4 separate regions of the Homo sapiens genome follow, and regions 1, 2 and 4 are each linked to region 3. The links are contacts of gene promoters, found by promoter capture Hi-C in blood cells and fetal thymus (Javierre and others, 2016). All regions are on one chromosome and are shown on one strand. The core of a region is centred on a gene start or on the middle of the fragment in contact, and the rest is flanking DNA. Distances in the headings are between cores, read along the strand shown. Region 1 has its middle 18 kb from the start of HYCC1. Region 2 overlaps HYCC1 (hyccin PI4KA lipid kinase complex subunit 1). Region 3 holds the start of TOMM7 (translocase of outer mitochondrial membrane 7). Region 4 has its middle 37 kb from the start of KLHL7-DT.

The links. The method cuts DNA at HindIII sites, captures the fragments that hold promoters and counts their contacts. A CHiCAGO score of 5 or more calls a contact.
Region 1: a fragment that was not itself captured here is called in contact with the fragment with the promoter of TOMM7 in region 3 in 1 of 17 cell types (megakaryocytes); the score reaches 5.1 in megakaryocytes.
Region 2: a fragment that was not itself captured here is called in contact with the fragment with the promoter of TOMM7 in region 3 in 3 of 17 cell types (total CD8 T cells, total B cells and naive CD8 T cells); the score reaches 6.1 in total CD8 T cells.
Region 4: a fragment that was not itself captured here is called in contact with the fragment with the promoter of TOMM7 in region 3 in 14 of 17 cell types (activated CD4 T cells, M0 macrophages, neutrophils and 11 more); the score reaches 8.4 in activated CD4 T cells.

The regions. Positions count from the first base shown.
Region 1 is chr7:23,030,533-23,033,232 of GRCh38, forward strand. No RefSeq gene overlaps it. Among named protein-coding and RNA genes, the nearest start is that of HYCC1, 18 kb to the left of the region's middle. The HindIII fragment of the contact is 2,268 bases long and covers 274-2,541 here.
Region 2 is chr7:22,995,424-22,998,123 of GRCh38, forward strand. All of the region lies in intron 1 of HYCC1 (hyccin PI4KA lipid kinase complex subunit 1), which reads right to left. Among named protein-coding and RNA genes, the nearest start is that of HYCC1, 17 kb to the right of the region's middle. The HindIII fragment of the contact is 170 bases long and covers 1,262-1,431 here.
Region 3 is chr7:22,821,565-22,824,264 of GRCh38, forward strand. It overlaps TOMM7 (translocase of outer mitochondrial membrane 7), which reads right to left and starts at 1,285. Exons shown (of 3, transcript NM_019059.5): 1 at 1,113-1,285. The coding sequence starts at 1,215. LOC112267993 (a long non-coding RNA gene) reads left to right here and starts at 1,393. Exons shown (of 3, transcript XR_002956543.2): 1 at 1,393-2,135. RefSeq lists enhancers at 766-1,526, 1,196-1,275, 1,306-1,515. The HindIII fragment of the contact is 22,456 bases long and covers 1-2,700 here.
Region 4 is chr7:23,067,659-23,070,358 of GRCh38, forward strand. No RefSeq gene overlaps it. Among named protein-coding and RNA genes, the nearest start is that of KLHL7-DT, 37 kb to the right of the region's middle. The HindIII fragment of the contact is 2,762 bases long and covers 1-2,655 here.

The DNA of each region.
Region 1 (2,700 bases), core at 158-2,657, 210 kb after region 3:
CCCTAGGTGATTACGATGTGCAGCCAGGGTTGAGAATCACTCATCCAAAGGTTCTACCAACCACACTTGAACACATATATTTTTAACTTCACTGGGAATACCTGTTACTAGTAATACAGTATTATAGTACACATAAGGCCTTACTGTTTGCTGCCCACCTGCTCCCTCTCCCCATGATTCCTCTTTAACTTCTCCTTGAGCAGAATATCCAAGATAGTGGTTTGCTGGCGCAAGCACACGTGTGCGTGTGTATGTGTGTGTGTTTAGCAGCAAAGCTTTCTGTTCTTTTTCCAAATGAAGTTTCCTTCAGAATAACAAATGACACCGAACAAAGCCAACCCGACAGATCTGAAGTGGAGTGAAGAGGGCCTCAAGCCCCTCTGCTCTCCTATTCCTTCTCCATCATTATCGGAACCCCAGGCTTCCCAAAGCACCATTTTATTTTACTTTATTTTATTTTATTGAGACAGAGTCTCTCTCTGTTGCCCAGGCTGGAGTCAGTGGCATGATCTTGGCTCACTGCAACCCCTGCCTCCCGAATTCAAGTGATTCTCCTGCCTCAGTCTCCCAAGTAGCTAGGATTACAGGTGTGTACTACCACACCTGGCTTATTTTTTTATTTTTTTAGTTGAGATGGGGTTTTGCCATGTTGCCCAGGCTGGTCTCAAACTCCTGACCTCAAGTGATCCACCTGCCTCGGCCTCCCAGAATGCTGGGATTACAAGCATGAGCCACCACACCCCTCCCCAAAGTACCGTTTTAAATCTGTCTCTCAGACACTAGAGAACGTCATTGTCTCACTGACTGGCTGCCAAGAGAAGTCACATATCAAACGAGATGGAAAGGCCCCCAGAACAATCTGCTGAATTCATGCAACACTCAACTCCAGCCAGGAAGTCCTGGATCTACTTCCGCTCGCCCATGACCATGCTATGAAACACCAATAACTGTGGAAATTTAGAAGAAGGCTCTCCTCCAACTCCCAGAGTGGCTAATTCTAAGCAGAGCCTTTTCTACTTTTTTTTTTTTTTTTTAAGATGGAGTTTCCTTCTTGTTGACCAGGCTGGAGTACAATGGCGTGATCTCGCTCACTGCAACCTCCGCCTCCCGGGTTCAAGCGATTCTCCTGCCTCAGCCTCCCAAGTAGCTGGGATTATAGGCATGCGCCAGCACAACGGGCTAATTTTTTTGTTTGTTTTTTGAGACAGAGTCTCACTCTGTCGCCCAGGCTGGAGTGCAGTGGCGCAATCTCGGCTCACTGCAAGCTCTGCCTCCCGGGTTCACACCATTCTCCTGCATCAGCCTCCCAAGCAGCTGGGACTACAGGCGCCCACCACCACACACGGCTAATTTTTTTTTTTTTTTTTTTTTTGTATTTTTAGTAGAGATGGGGTTTCACCGTGTTAGCCAGGATGGTCTCGATCTCCTGACCTCGTGATCCGCCCGCCTCGGCCTCCCAAGTACTGGGATTACAGGCATGAGCCACCGCGCCCAGCCTTGTATTTTTTTTAGTAGAGACGAGGTTTCTCCATGTTGGTCAGGCTGGTCTAGAACTCCCTCCCGACCTCAGGCAATCCACCCGCCTCGGCCTCCCAAAGTGCTGGAATTACAGGCGTAAGCCACCGCGCCCGGCCTAAGCAGAGCCTTTTCTAATGGTTGAAAAATGAAGCAAACTTTACAGTGTGCTCCCACTCTCTTATCTGCTGTACCCCTGTCTCCAAATCAGGTCTCAACAAATATCTCAAGGGATCTGAAAAGGGATACCCAGTTATGAAAGGGCAACCTATGGCCTGAAAGGAATGTGTGGAGTGAAGGAGCATAGTTTTGACAACTTTGCTTTGGTGATTTTGGGAAGTGGTTGTGGGCAATTGGCATATGAATCTTGTTTTTTGTTGAAAACAAAACAAAAGAGGAAAAGGCTGGCTGATAGCTGGTTGTCTCTTTGGCCACCCCTGAGGCTCAACCACTGGTTTTTTTATGTACTGGGTCCCCATTCAGGGTCTGGAACTTTGATTCATCTTTGTGATCATCATACAAAAGAGAGCTTGGATGCAGGTGGCTAAAAGCTGCAGGATGCATAAATGCTTCTATGCCTTTTAACAACCCCATGGGTAATTTTTTTTTTTTTTTTTTTGAGACGGAGTCTCTCTCTGTCACCCGGGCTGGGGTGCAGTGGAGCGATCTCGGCTCACTGCAACCTCTGCCTTCTGGGTTCAAGCAATTCTCCTGCCTCAGCCTCCCAAGTAGCTGGGACTACAGTTGTGCGCCACTATGCCCAGCTAATTTTTGTATTTTTAGTAGAGAAGGGATTTCACCATGTTGGTTAGCCAGGATGGTCTCGATCTCTTGACCTCGTGATTCTCCCTCCTCGGCCTCCCAAAATGCTGGGATTACAGGCGTGAGCCACCGCACCTGGATGGGTAATTTTATTATTTTACAAGTCAGTAAACCGATGCTTAGAGAAGTTAACCAACTTGATCAAGGTCACACAGCGGTGGAGAAGAGATTCCACCCCATACTTTTTGGGCTCCAGAGAACATAAGCTTTCCACTACGTTAGCTTATCCTGAGAGAAAGGGGTTTTGGTTGGAGGGTGAGGTAGAGAATGACCAATTTTGGAGAAGGTGTGAATTTGGAGTCGGACCAGTCCTAAATAAGTGTTCTAGAAGGGAACTCTAGGAAGACAGGGAAACATGGACCC
Region 2 (2,700 bases), core at 97-2,596, 170 kb after region 3:
CTTCCTATCTGCCTCAGCTACTCAATCCTACGATCAAAGTCTATGATCATAGCCTAGACCACCTGTTTTCAAACATTTGGGTTAGGGACTCTTTATACTCTTAAATATTAAGCCAACCTGAAAGAACACCCAATGGCCAAAGCTGGAACAATCCAAGCAACAGAACAAGTAATGTAGTACTGCATTATAACCCAAAGTATAAAATAAACATACATGAGGCCATACTCATATAAATAAATGATTAAATAAATAAGAGAATAGGAGATAAAGTTTCCTTACGGAAGAATTCCCAGTAACAGATGTAGACACTATCTCTTCCAGGAGGTAGAGCTTAGTCCTTGCTCCCCCATTGAGAGTGCACTGGACATAGCTATTCACTTGCAAAAAAAGAGAGTACGGAAAGAGGAAAAGAGTAACTGTATAGTGGTGAAACCGGGCAAGCACTGCCTTGATCTAAGCTAACATCAACACGACGTCATGTGAATATCAAGTACCATTCAAAATGATTACAGACATGAGCCACCGTGCCTGGCCCCTGGTAAGTTCCTTTTAACTATAAAAGTAAGAATATCTTTAGAAGAGAAAGTATGGCTGGGTGCGGTGGCTCACGCCTGTAATCCCAGCACTTTGGGAGGCTGAGGCAGGAGGATCACTTGAGGTTAGGAGTTTGAGAAAGACTGGCCAACACAGTGAAACCCCTCTGTACTAAAAATACAAAAATTAGCCAGGCATGGTGGCATGTGCAGGTGATCCCAGGTACTTGGGAGGCTGAGATAGAAGAATCACTTGAACCCGGGAGGCAGAGGTTTCAGTGAGCCAGGATCAGACCACTGCACTCCAGCCTGGATGACAAAGTGAGACTCCGTCTCAAAAAAAAAAAAAAAAGAAGCAAAAATATACAAACATTAAAAATGAATCCTGAAATATCAATGCATTATGTAGGAAAGAGAATAATGGAATTCTATAAAGTATAGGATAATTTTTTTATTTCAACTTTTATTTTAGATTCAGGAGGTACATGTGCAGGTTTGTTACATGGGTATACTGTGTGATGGTGAGGTTTGGAGTACTATTGTAGGATAAGTATTTAAAGAAATAAAAAATTAAAAAGCCAACAGTGTTTACTAGCTGACATAAGCTTTTCTTTGTCCTTACCACGTACAGTACAATTGTTAAAAAAAAAAAAAAAAAAAAAAAAAAATTCTTTCCATTAGCCCTGGGCTTCAAGATGAGTAACAGTTCTGACTAAAGGTATCAGTAAAGCTTAGATAGGACAAAAAGCAAACTGGCCACAAAATGATTTAAAAACTGTTTCTCTCTACCAGCAAGCAGCAAGAGGCTCTCTACAAGTTGCTAACCCACCCCCACATTTCATATATAATATGTAACCTATTAACATCTATGCCAAAGACTTGACTATATAACTCTGCAAGCTTTATAAATCTAATTAGACATCTCTAGTAATATTCAAAATATACTTGCATTTGTAAAAACTTTATTCTTCTCAAAGATAAAAGAGACAATTAAAATACATGTTTCCTGCTGTGTAACTAACTTCCTATTTTTGCCAAACATGTTCCGGAGCAGAATATTTAAAATTACATTAGAAGGCTTGCTAGGAGTCTATGTAGTATTTCACTAGCCCAATAAGTCTGTATAACATTAATTTTTTATATTTTCAATGTACAATAAAACCTTTCTAAGTCAAATGTCTTATTCTTCAATTCCCACATTATGTTATTAATAACAATTACCAAAATTTATCTTTTAGTGTTGTCATCAGAGACATATAACATTTTAATTATTTTATAAGAATATTTTAAAAGTATTTGTAACTTTCACTGTAAAACTCTAAAAATTTCCTTATTCCTATCTTTTACATCATCCCCTTCACCATTAAGCACTAACGACAAACTACTATAAAACTTTTTATAACCATTTGTTTTATATATCATTATGAAGCTTAAGTTTCTATAAATTTATAGAGCAACCAAATTTCTATAAATGGATTGTGACACATCACGAAATTTTAAACTTCTCTCCTATGCAATGAGGCCATTGCTGTAGTTAAATTAAGCGCTACCAGAAGATTATCAAGAATTCCTGGGTGAATTTCAGGAAAACAGAATGGAGAGAAATGTTCAGATTATGTTACAGAATAAAATTAATTTAATTTTAGGATTTTGCTGCTTAGAAACTGACCAATCAATTGTGAAGGAGGACAGTATATGTGCTGTTGCTTAAAAAGAAGTGTTGATGCCTCACTGCCTACCTAGGTCATCAAGTAAATAAAGCTGCCTCTCAAGGCACCAGGAGAAGTAATATAATTCATAGTAAGAGAGGTTTGGGAAGTCTTTCCAAAGGCCTATTACTTAGGCCTATTTTCCCCAAAAATCACAAAACAAGTGTCTGATTATCAAGAATAGAACATAGGTTTTTACTCTATAAAATGGTTTTTGGCTAAACCATCTTTTGCCTACCCCAAGGACAAATAAGATCATGTTGGGATATCAGTGTGCTGTGGCAACCAGCCCAGTGTGTTTCTGTTGGAAAAGCTAGAACAATTAGAAGGTAAGAAGTTCTTTCTTCTCATTTCCCATTTCTATCTTCCTGTTCTTCTCAGATCCTCCATGACTTCAGACAAGATCAGGCACGTTCAAGGTGGTATGGTCATAGACAAGATCCTCCAGGACTTCAGAA
Region 3 (2,700 bases), core at 35-2,534:
TAAGCAAAACCCCGTCTCTACTAAAAATATAAACATTAGCCGCGAGCGGTGGCTGCAAGTCTGTAATCACAGCTACTCGGGAGGCTAAGGGGGAAGGATCGCTTGATCCCGAGAGGCAGAGATTGCGGTGGGCAGAGATCGCGCCACTACACTCCAGCCTGGGCACACAGCGACTGTCTCAAAAAGGAAAAAAGGAAAAAAAAAGACAGAAAAGAAAAGAAAAAACTACAGAATAGGTCCCAGTCTGCAACCCTAACTGAAAAATATTAACAAATCCTTGCAGTAAGTGACCGAGCCTGTTGGCACCAGCCTGTAGTCCCAGCTACTTGGGAGACTGAGGTGGAAGGATCGCTAGAGCACAGGAGGGGAAGGTTGCAATGAGCCGGGATAGCGCCACTGCACTCCAGTCTGGGTGACAGAGCGAGACTCTGTCTTAAAAACAAAAACCAAAAAAACCCCAAATCCTTTAAGTGCGCTATAATGGTTAAGACTATGGGCTCTGATGCCCCACTGCCTGAGCCCCTAACTCCCTCAGTCAGCATAGCTGTGCGACCTTGGCAAAAAAGTTTCTCTACGGCTGTTTCCTCACCTGTAAAATGGGGGCAGTAATAGAAATCATCCAAACCCTTCATCGTACAGGTAAGAAAGCAGAGGCATCCAACGACTATTATTATAATCATGCTTTCATGGCAGTGGTACTTTCACGAGGTGTCTCGATTCCCTGAACAGGACTCTTTCCACTTAGGACCACATGGAGCGGTGAGGAAAAACACCCCGAGAACCACCTAGTGCTAGAGAGTGAATTAGTGACTTTCACATCCACTGGGGTCATCCAACCCTCCCTACAATCCCGAGAAATATGACCTCCACTTTAAGGATGCAAAAATAGAAAAGGAGGGATTGCAAGACTGCTTAAAGACCATGCAACTATAAAGCGATAGAACGGGAACTCGAACTCAGGTTAGATCGGCCCCACTTGACCAGACAGCCTCAGGGGCCGTGCACGGCAGTGTCCCCTATTTTTCTCTCCCTCCCCCGACGGCCAAAAATGGGGCTGCTGTCTCCGCCACCCTCTTCCCTCCAGTCACTTTCCCGGTTCTTCTCCCACTGACCCAGGTAAATCACAAGAGGGATAAAGCCCCAGCGAATGGCAAACTGGCTCCCCTTGAAGAGCTGCTGTAGTCTCTGCTTGGCCTCTTTGCTCAGCTTCACCATGGCGACGGCCGTGTGGCGCAGGGAGGACCCCTTACAGCAACCACAGCGTCGGGAATCCGAAAGGGAAAGGAGGTGCGCAGGCGCCACACACGGCCTTTACGGCAGGAGTCGTGAGCGTCGCCAGCAGAGGTCGTAATTCATCGCCTTTAACCTTCCCTGCTCTTCCGCCTCGCCGGCAGTAGTAGGCGCATGCGTGGTTGCGATCATGGCTGGCGGTAACTTCGCGTTTCTGTTACCCATTTTTAAAACGCATCTTCAGGTGTTCCTTCCTTCTCATGGAAGGAACATTAATTAAATTCAGAGGGACTGGGTTTTAGTCCTAACTCTTATTCCTACTGGCTGTGTAACCGTGGACAAATTATTTAACTTCTCAGAATCAGGTTGTTCAAACCTGAGGTTGAACTGCAAAAAGGTTACGAAGTGACACTCAGTAGGGCCCGAATCCATGTTTTCTTTGATCCCAATCTTTTTTAAAAAAATTTCTTTTAATTACTTGCCAACATTTTAGAATTTGGAAATCTCACATGAAATTCTGGACTTTTGAAGCTGAGGAATTCCATTGCAACAATCAAGGAGACTAAATAGGAAATGACACTTCTGTTTGGCCATCTTGCCCTCATTGGTTTAGAATGGCAGTGGTTCTCAACCCTGGCTGCACATTAGAATCACTTTAGGAGAGGTAAAACCATACTCACGCTGGAGACCTACTCCTAGAAATTCTAAAGAGTTTGGGGCTGGGAACTGGCCATTGATCTGCCTTTGAAGTTTCCCAAGTGATTCCCAACCTCTGATGTAATAAATTTCTGGCTGCTGTCGTATTTGAGATTTGACCCCCCCAGGTCTAAGACTTAATTGATTTTTAAGGCTGTAAGACATTTCTAAGACTTTGACTTTTAAGACTTTCCTGCCTCATTCTGAAGGTACGTAGTCGTTTTCTGTGCCCAATGTCTGTGCTCCTAAAAATTTCCCCTTGCTGACCTCTGTGGCTTGCGCCTGTAATTCTGGCTATTTGGGAGGCTGAGGCGGGAGGACCACTTGAGTTTGATGCTGCAGTGAGCTGTGATTGGGTCACTTGCTGTAAGCTCCCAAAGGGTTCACTTTGCCCGCTGCCTGGACAGAGCCGATTGATCAACACTGGGGAATTACAATAAAGAGTAATTCACGCAGAGCTGGCTGTGCAGGAGACCAGAGTTTTATTATTACTCAAATCAGTATCCCATAGCATTCGGGGATCAGAGTTTTTAAGGACAATTTGGTGCGTGGGGAGACAGCCAGTAAGTCGGAAGTGCTGATTGGTTGGGTCAGAGATGAAATCACAGGGAGTGGAAGCTGTCTTGTACTGCCTCAGTTCCTGGGTCGGGGCCACAAGATCAGATGAGCCAGTTTGCCGATCTGGGTGGTGCCAGCTGATCCATTTTGCAGGCTCTGCAAAGTATCTCAAGCACTGATGTTAGGCTTTACAATAGTGTTATTCCCAGGAGCAAT
Region 4 (2,700 bases), core at 25-2,524, 250 kb after region 3:
GGGAAAGGTGGATGGTGAGAAACTTGTGCTCCAAGGTGGTCATTTTGCCTATTTGAGATTCCAGGTCAGTTCTGCCAAGTGTCTTCACCTCGAGATTTCCTGGCATGATTAGGAGAATGGAGCGCTAAGGTCCTTGGGGGAGAGAAAGAGAGAGAGAGAGATCCTAATGTGCACTCCAAAGCCTACATTGGTACCTATGTAACATGGACACGGAGTTGAAAGCCACAAGCCTGCCATGGGGCCTGCTGTGGCACTGGGATAGATGATCCCACAGCAAAAGTCTTCAGGATGAATAGCCTGACTGGGGGCTGGATAAGGGAGAGATTCAGAAAGGTCTCTAGCCAGAGAGAGCTGAAGGTAGGCCAAGCCAACAAGGAAGGGTGACTAGGGCTTGACTAAACCAGGAAAAAATAGACAACTTTAGCAGCCACTGAAGTCTAACGCCAAAACTTGGGTGAACTTCAATAGGCACTAATCAATGCACACTCAAGAACCAAGATTAAGGCCATAGAGACCCCTCTTCCCGCCCTATATCGTAAGAATACAATAAACTATACCCCTCCCCCACGTACTTCCAGGTAGGAAGGCAATGAAGGGGTGAAAATGGGAGAAGTCTGAGAACCTGAGAATTACATAAGGGGTGGTTTAAACGACTGGATCAGAATACATTTTAAACCAGATTAATTTGTGTTTTTTGGTTTTGTTTTTCTTTCCCACCACCTACCAGGTCACAAGACTAAATAAGCTCTAAACAAAATAAAGAAATTAAATCACTTCTAAATTTCTGTATCACAAGTAATTTTGCAACCCTGCTACAAAAACACTCAAATAAATAATAAGTTCACATTATATTGCATTTGACCCCAAAAACAAAAGATTCTTTCATGACTCAGAACTTTGCTATAAAGTCATTTATGTGAGGCTTTTGTGCATGAAGAATGATCGTGACTATTTGCACTTATATATCTAACATTTTAATCTCATAGATTTATTAAGAGTGGAAGATTACATTATTTACTCACAATTCTTTCCCTCCCCACCTTTGCATGGTTCACTGTAGGTAAAGCCTTCTACTCCTTTGGATTATTTTGTTTTTGTTTTTGAGACAAGGTCTTGCTCTGTCACCCAGGCCGGAGTGCGTGGCTCAATTATAGTTCACTGCAGCCTCAGCCTCCCAAGCTCAAGTGATCCTCCCACCTCAGCCTCCCAAGTAAGTGGGAGTACACACGTATGCCATCGTGCCTGGCTGATTATTTATGTATTTATTTATTTATTTTAGATATGGAGTCTTCCTACATTGCCCAGGCTGATCTCAAACTCCTGGGCTCAAGCAATCCTCCCACCTTGGCCTTCCAAAGTGCTGGGATTACAGGCAGGAGCCACCATGCCCAGTCATTCTACTCCTTTGATGTTGGGCTTGGCCACATCTCTTGCTTTAGACAATGGAATGTGGGTGGAAAAGAGAACATGTCCATTTTTAGCCATCACATTTCCATTCTCCTCCCTTACTCTTCTGCCATCTGCCATGAGAATAACCCTAGGTAACCATTGGTCCCAGAATAGAAACACGTAAAACATACTAAACTCACAGACTGAAGGAGAACCTCCCCAGCCCACCTGCAGGTCAGGAATATAAAATAAGTAATTTGGGAGTTTTTCATATGTCAATATTGCAGCAAAAACCTGACTGATACATTAAGCAGTTAATATTTCTTTAAATATTAAATGGTTACTGTAAACATTCATATACTATTCATACAACTGATAAACCAAATAACAGATCTAACAACTTAAAATTTCCCAGCTATGGCCAGGCGCGGTGGCTCACGCCTGTAATCCCAGCACTTTGGGAGGCCAAGGCGGGTGGATCACGAGGTCAGGAGATCGAGACTATCCTGGCTAACACGGTGAAACCCCATCTCTACTAAAAATACAAAAAAAAAAACAAAACAAAACATTAGCCAGGCGTGGTGGTGGGTACCTGTAGACCCAGCTACTCAGGAGGCTGAGGCAGGAGGATGATGTGAACCCGGGAGGCGGAGCTTGCAGTGAGCCGAGATAGCGCCACTGCACTCCAGCCTGGGCGACAGAGTGAAGCTCCGTCTCAAAAAAAAAAAAAAAATTTCCCAGCTATTCAAACACTGATTATAAACTTCTTTAATTATATGCTAAATAATTACTTAAAATCACAAATTTAATATATCAGGTTCTTGTAAATGTTTTAAACAACTTAAACTAGAGACAAAGCACTCATGCAATATTATACTGATCACCAAAACTGCAGGATTTGGGTGGTTGAATGATTGTTTCTCCATTGGATTTGGAATCTGATCACACAGCCCAAAATAATTCATCTTTAAATTACTAGAACTTAAATTAAACCTCTATTACAACTAAAATTCACTTTTGCTTCTAATCAATTGCCTTTCCTATAGATTTGAATTTTCCAATGCATGGTTTCTCTCTACAAAATGATAAATTATCTCATGTTTTCTATGTCTGCCTGTACCTAACCAATAGTCCTGCCACTCTAATATGATGGTCTGGCCTGAAGGTATAAAGGGAGACTTCTGTCTCATGAATATCTCATAATAATAAGTAGCATATCTAGTTCAGGGTTTTGCAAACTTCACGGTGCATGCAAATCACCTGAGAAGCTTGTTAACGTATATACTCTGGTTTAGTAAAGCTGGAGTAGGG